Linked DNA regions of Homo sapiens: region 1 is linked to region 2. Evidence: promoter capture Hi-C in human tissues and cell types (Jung and others, 2019). All regions are on one chromosome and are shown on one strand. Each heading gives the region's core, a stretch centred on a gene start or on the middle of the fragment in contact. The rest is flanking DNA. Distances are from core to core; before and after follow the strand shown.

Evidence for each region. Contacts are between HindIII fragments. The study calls those that stand out against the background at their distance.
Region 1: a contact is called between a fragment that was not itself captured here and the fragment with the promoter of GPRASP1 in region 2, in 1 of the 25 tissues and cell types used here (aorta).

What each region holds. Positions count from the first base shown.
Region 1 is chrX:102,694,599-102,698,118 of GRCh38, reverse strand. The region is part of intron 4 of ARMCX5-GPRASP2 (ARMCX5-GPRASP2 readthrough); the gene reads right to left. Among named protein-coding and RNA genes, the nearest start is that of GPRASP2, 16 kb to the left of the region's middle. The HindIII fragment of the contact is 7,384 bases long and covers 1-3,520 here.
Region 2 is chrX:102,650,186-102,653,533 of GRCh38, reverse strand. GPRASP1 (G protein-coupled receptor associated sorting protein 1) reads right to left here and starts at 2,051. Exons shown (of 6, transcript NM_001184727.2): 1 at 1,939-2,051; 2 at 1,801-1,847; 3 at 1,269-1,359; 4 at 636-703; 5 at 236-313. All of the region lies in intron 4 of ARMCX5-GPRASP2 (ARMCX5-GPRASP2 readthrough), which reads right to left. The HindIII fragment of the contact is 5,623 bases long and covers 1-3,348 here.

The DNA.
Region 1 (3,520 bases), core at 915-3,414, 44 kb before region 2:
TGTGTAAGGCAGATATCTGGATTGACCACATTGAAAAAGTGGGAGGAAGTGGAGAATTAGGTGATTAGGCCCTGCCTTTGGTATGAGAAAGTTAGAAGGTTAACCCTATATCTAGGGTGGATGCCAGAGCAACATGAAATTATAGGAATTGACTACAATGGTTCTTTGTGACTTCTTTCACTTAGCATAAGGCTCTTCCCTGCTGTAGCATTTATTAGTACTTCATTGCTTCTTACTGCAGAAAATTATTCCATTGTATGAATATAACACATTTTATTTATCTCTTTAGCAGTTGATGGAAACTTGGGTTGTTGCTATGTATTATCTATCATGAATAATGCTGCTATGAACATGTGTGCACAACATTTTATGTGGACATATGTTTTCATTTCTCTTGGATACATGCCTAGGAGTGAAATTGCTAGAACATAAGGTCATTTTTTGAAAAACTGCCAGACTGCTTTCCAAAACAACTGCACAATTTTACATTCCCACCAGCAGTGTATGAAGATGCTCATATTGCCATATCCTTACCAACACATTTTATTATCTGTCTTTTAATTATTTTCATCCTAATGAGTATGGAAATGTTTGGGGGTTTTGATTTGCATTTCAGTGATAGCTCATGATGTTAAGCATCTTTTCATGTGCTTACTTGCAATTTTTTGTATTTTCTTTGGAGAAATATTTATCCAGATCTTTTGACCATTTTTATATTGGGTTGTCTTTTTATTTTTGAGTTGAAACAGTTTTTATTCATTCTAGATTGAAGTTCCTTGCTAAGTATATGATTTGAAATATTGTCTCCCATTCTCTGGGGTGGGTTTTCACTTACTTATGTCCTTTGAAGCAGAAAAGTCTTTAATTTCGATGACGTACAGTTTGCCTATTTTTCCCTTTGTTCTTTGTGCTTTGGTGTCATATGTGAGTCACCAAATGTCACAAAGGTCCATAGTCACAAAGATTTATACCATGTGTTTTCTTCTAAGGGTTTTATAGATTTAGCTCTTACATTTAGGTTTTTGAACAATTTCTAGTTCATTTTTATATACAGTGTGAGGCAGGGATTAAAAGTCATTATTTTGCAGGTGCCTGTCCAATTATCCCAACACCATTTGTTGAAAAGACAATTCTTACCCTGTTGTATGGCTCTCATGCTCTTGTCAAACTCAATACATGTGAGGATTTATTTCTGGACTCTCAATACTTTTTCATTCATATTTATGTTTACCGTTATGTCAGTACCACATAGTTTGGATTACTGTAGTTTCATAGTAAGCACTGAAATCAAATAGTGTGAGTCCTCCAACTTTGTTCTTTTATTGATTATTTTGGATACTGTGGATCACTTGCATATAAATTTTGAGAGCAGCTTCTGAATTTCTACGAAAAGGCAGCTGAATTTGGTAAGGATTACACTGAGTCTGTAGATCAATTTAGCTGGTATCAATATTTTAATAATATTAAGTCTCACAATCCATAAACATGGGGTGTCTTTCCATTTATTTAGGTCTTCAATTCCTTTCAACAATTTTTAGAGTTTTCAGTGAACAAATATTGCACTTTTTTGGTAAAACTTACTCCTTAGTTTTAAAAATTATTTTGATGAGCTTGCAGTTATAAAAATGTCATTATTTGTTTGATCATTACTACTGTATAGAAATACAATATGTTTTTGCATATTGATATTTTATCATGCAACTCTACTGAAGTTGTTCATTAAACAGGTTTTAGTGGATCTCCTAGGATTTTCTATATGCAAGATTAATTCATCTGCAAATGTTTATGATATTATGAATCATGTTAACATTATCAGTTAACTTTATCAATTTTTTATGTCCCGTTTATTTCTATCTAATCTAGAATATAAATAGGTTAGATAGAAGCATTAGTTATTAATAAAACATAAATAAAAACCACAATAAGATACCACTTCACACCTAATAGGATGCTAGAATATAAATTTATTTAATTTATAAATATAAAATATAAAAAATATAAAAATATAAATTTATATAAATATATATAATAAAATATACAAAATAAAATGTAAAATATATAATTAATTTATATATAAAATATAAAAAAACTCTAATATATTGTCTTAGTACTTTTATGATTTCAAGATCTGTGTTTAAATCTTTGAACCAATTGGAGTTGGTGAGGATGTAGAGAAACTGGAACCCTCATGCATTGCTGATGACAATGTAAAATCAAGAAAGGATTCCAGCAAAAGGGGTGGGGAAAATCATGACCTGGGTGGTCTCTCTTCTCAGTTGTTCTCTAGAGTTTAACATAGGTACTCTGGTTGATATACTGCTATTAAATTGGAGTCTTTGTGAGGGAGGGGCCTGAAGCTTCCTAGTCTGCCATCTTGCTAATGTCATTCCACTGTTGAGATTTTGTTATCTTCTTTAGTCAGCTCCATCCTCTTTTCTGTTATTGTCACAAATTATAACTTTATACATTGCATGTCCAAAACATACATTAAATATTGATTTTTATGCATTTGCCTTTCAGGTCATACAAAAAATAAAAAAGTGGAGCTACAATCCAAAATTCTAACAGTACTGGCTTTTGTCATTACTTACGTATTTATATTTGCTAGAGATCTTTATCTCTTCATACAGCTGTGAGTTATTGTCTAGTTTCTTTTTGTTTAAATCTGCATGACTCTCTTTAGAATTCCTTGCTTGGCATATCTAGTGAAAATGAACTCCCTCAGATTTTGTTTATCTGAGAATGTCTTAATTTATCCCCATTAAAAAATATTTTTTGGTGGACATAGAATTCTCCGTTGACTCTTCCCCAAGCACTTTGATGATATAAACCCAACACATTCTGGCCTCCAGGTTTCTGATACCAAATTGGCTGACAGTCTTATTGACAATCACTTATATATGATCAGTCACTGCTCTCTTTCTGCTTTTAAGATTCACTCTTTGTCTTTCAATAATCTGATTATAATGTGTTTTAGCATATGTCACTTTGTTTTGTCCTGTTTCTAGTTCATTGAGCTTCTTGGATTTTTACATTCAAGTGTTTTATCAAATTTGGAAAGTTTTTAGCCATTATTATTTTTTGAATGATCTCTCTACCCCTTTCTCTCTCTCTTCTCTTCCTAATATTCCCATAATGTGTAAGTTGGCCTGTTGTTCTGCTGGATCACGTCCCACAGGTCCCTTAGGCTCTGTTCACTTTTCTTCATTTTTTTCCCTTTCTGTCCCTCAGACTCAATAATTTAAAAGGTTCTATCTTCTAGTTCTCTGAATCTTTATTCCGCTTGCTGAAATCAGCTTTTGCACTAATTGAATGTCTTTTGAGTTACTGTACCTTTCAGCTCCAGAATTTCCTTTGCGTTCTTTATTCATAATTTCTATATCTTTATTGATACTGCCATTTTGTACATACACCATTTTACTGTCATTATTCATGTCTTCCTTTAGCATTTTGAGCATATTTAAGATCACAGTTTTAACATCTCTGTCTAGTAAGTCTGGCATCTGTGCTTCCTCAGGCA
Region 2 (3,348 bases), core at 802-3,301:
TCATCCCATGCAGAGACATATGCAGTGAGACTGATGTTGAATGCTAGGTGGGACAGCTGGGCTTTGAGAAAGTCTCTCTGGACCGGCTGCCTCCTATTAAACAGGTCCAACAATGGTGGGAAAGTGTGTCGGCAATGGGAGGGGCCAAGAAGTCCCCAGATTGGACCCTAAGCACTCCCGGACCCATGCTGGTCTCCACTACCCCGCCCAAAAGTATACCCACTCTCATACCAACCTTCACTTATGTGGTGCAGTTTCCCCCTCCTTTTCTTGTTCAAGTAGTGTCAAGCCCCACAGCTGACAGAAGGGGGTCCTACAGACAAGTAAACATACAGGAGAGAATGGAGAATGGTAGATAGGCAAGCACTCTGGCTCCTGTGACAAATATCTGTCTTCCCATTCAAGGGTTCAATGTATCTATGGTTTCCTGTGTCCTGGTCCCTGCTCTCAGGTCTTTCTGAGTCACAACACAACCTACACCTATCTCATGTCCCCTGCAAGAAATAAAAAGGATGCTGGCACTGTGCAAATCCAGCAGAGTAGAAGTGGGTCTGCACCCACTGGTCTCAAAGCCACCTGCCATGCTCTCTTTCTCCAACTGTCCCCTGAATTGCCCCCTCCCCCTTCTCACCAACCTCCAGAGGTGTGAGCCAGTCTCCTCCTCCTTGCCTTTCTTGCAGAACTGGCCAGCCTTAAAGCAGGCCTATGGACAAACAGATGAAAAAGTAAGACAGGAAATGAGGGGTGGCAGTAAAGCCCTTGGTAGAGAGACCAACGCTAAGGATAAGAATCCCCATATTATTGATATCTGTCTTTCAACATTCGGGGTTTTGCTGGTGGAATATTCTCGTTTTGTTTAGGCCCTGCTTCAAGGTTCTAGAGATAACAACTCCTTCTCTTGACGTCATACTCTTCTCATTACTCCCTTCTCCAATTCTGAGGATTCACCACTAGGTGCGCCACATCCCCTTGCTCTGCGCAGCAGAAAATGGGGGAAGGGCGCCACATATTCTAGAAAACAGGTCGTGAATTGGTACTTGTCAGTATGTCTCCCTCATCACCCCTACCTCCAAAGCTCACCCTTTCAAGCCCCCAGTTTAGGACGGTGGGGGAGGCAGATGGGGATGGAAGGTGGGGGAAGCGCCTGGAACACCATTAGAGAGGGGAAGATTAAGAGGTGCTCCTGGATGCCTGACCTGCTCTGGTCGCAGTCCCCCACCCCGATTCGGTTCTCCAGTGTTTGGCACCCACCCCACATCCCCACACACCTCCAGAAATCCAGGGAATATTCGTGCTCCTCCTTTATTTCAAGCCTCTCCTCTACAGATGCTCACTGTGTCCTGTCAGAATACGCCAGACCTACCGCGCAGACAGACTTTGACATCAACCTGGAGTCTGTGGGAAGGGACAGCACCCAGGACACGGGGCCCCACAGGCCCCTTTCCGGAATCAGGGCCCGGAGCAGCGAACGCGACCCACCTCCCACGGGCTAGGCACAGAGCTGGGACGCTGGCCCACGAGGGCCCCCCCAGGCGCCCCCCAACTGCCTCCCGGGCGCCCCCCAACACGGCTCCCGTTTGGCCATTTCTCCCGCAGGAGCCTCCCCCACAGCCGTCTCTCGGTACCGAAACCGTCGAGGGCTGCGCGCGGGCGCCTGCAAAGCTGGCTGGGAAGCGGTCAGCGCGGTTCTCCTCCAGACGATCTGACGGTGCCTCTGGAGCCAGCCCCTCAGCCCTTGGTCCGGCCTGGCCCGCACCAGTCACCGCCTCCCCATAGCCAGGGATCTCGGGCACTGCGCACCTCTCTCTAGCGCCCGGCTCCGAACGGATCGTCTCCTCGTTGCCAGGCTGTCAGGGTCCGGGGGGCAGGTTGCCAGCCGGTCCACCCTGGCGGACCACCCCCACACCACGGCCCCCCACCTCACGCACCCCTACTTGCCTTCAGAGGCCCAGAGCCCAGGTCATCGGCCTCCCCCTCCTCTCTTCAGCTCTCCTCTGGCTGCTCTTCAGTTGGATTCCCACCGCTTTCCCAGCGATCCGAATGGCAAAGACGAGTCCCGCCCCCCACGCCTCTGCACCAAACTGGGCAGGGGCTGCGCAGGATGCGGCAAGAACCGCTCTCCGCGAGGGTGTCGGGAAGGGGGGCGGAGGGATACGGCGCGAAAGTGCAGGACGCCCCCCCTCACAGAACCACCATAGTTCCGACCCAGAGGTGGGCGGGGCCAGGACGAGCCCCAGCCGGGGCCTGCGGGTTGGCACCAGGCTGCCTCAGGAGGACCCCGCGGACCCTAACGTGGCGACGACCACCACATTTCTGGCGCTGCTATAATATATGGCACCGGCGGGCGGCTGCGGGGCCGGGCGGAGGACAGGATCGCGAGGTCGCGAAGAGCCGCGCTGGAGGGAGCAGCGGATGGATACCAAACCGTCCCTTGGTGTGTCTGCACCCCCGCCCCAACCGCCCCCCTATAAGGACTGCTGGGTGTTTGCCCTCTCCCCCTCCCTAGTCTGCTCACCCTCCTTCCTGGATGTTAATGGGAGAGGGGGTGTCAGCACTGCAGTGTGGGAGGGGAGAGGCGATTTCAGTCCAGACAGGCCCGGGGTTCTAGGGTGGTCGTCCTGTGCGTTTCTTTCCCAGCTTCGTGGAGCCACGCAGGGGAGGAAGGTACACCTGCTCTTAAGTGAACTCCGGGGCAGGGGGCTCCCATCAAGGACTCACCACTGCCCCTCTTCTAAAAGAAGGTAGACCTAGACCTCTAACCCTAGGAAACCAACCACTGGTCTGCACCAGACTCATTTCTTTCTGCCACACCGCTGTTTCTCATTTCAAATGGTGGCTCACGTTGGCATTGCACCGTCCCCACAGTTGCCCCCAAAAGAGGACCTTTCCCTGTCAGGACCCGCAGGAGGTCATAACAGTCCTCTCTCTTTGATGCCGCCAGGTAGGGATGGTCCTGGCTTCTCTTCGGTTCCCTGTCAAGTCTTCTCTTGCCATGATATTTGGCAGTGTGGAAATGTGGCTGGTATCAAACCAGCTTGGATCTCCGCCACCTGCCACAACTACCTATTGTTTCAGCAGTCATTCTCAGGAGAGGATCCCACCGTGCACCCCCCTCCCCGAGACAAAGCAACCTGGCTCATTTGAATCCTCTTCTTTCACCCCCACATCCGTCCTCTACTCTTGAGCCCCTCCTTTCCCTGCTTCCTGCATGGGACAGACAGAGCAATGTGGTTAAACACCAAGTTGATGTTGTTACTGTTGTCCATTTGAAAACTCATTTAGACACTACCCTCATTGTGTTTGGCAGGTAACGGTCCCCTAAAGATGTCCATGTCCTGTTCTCCAGAA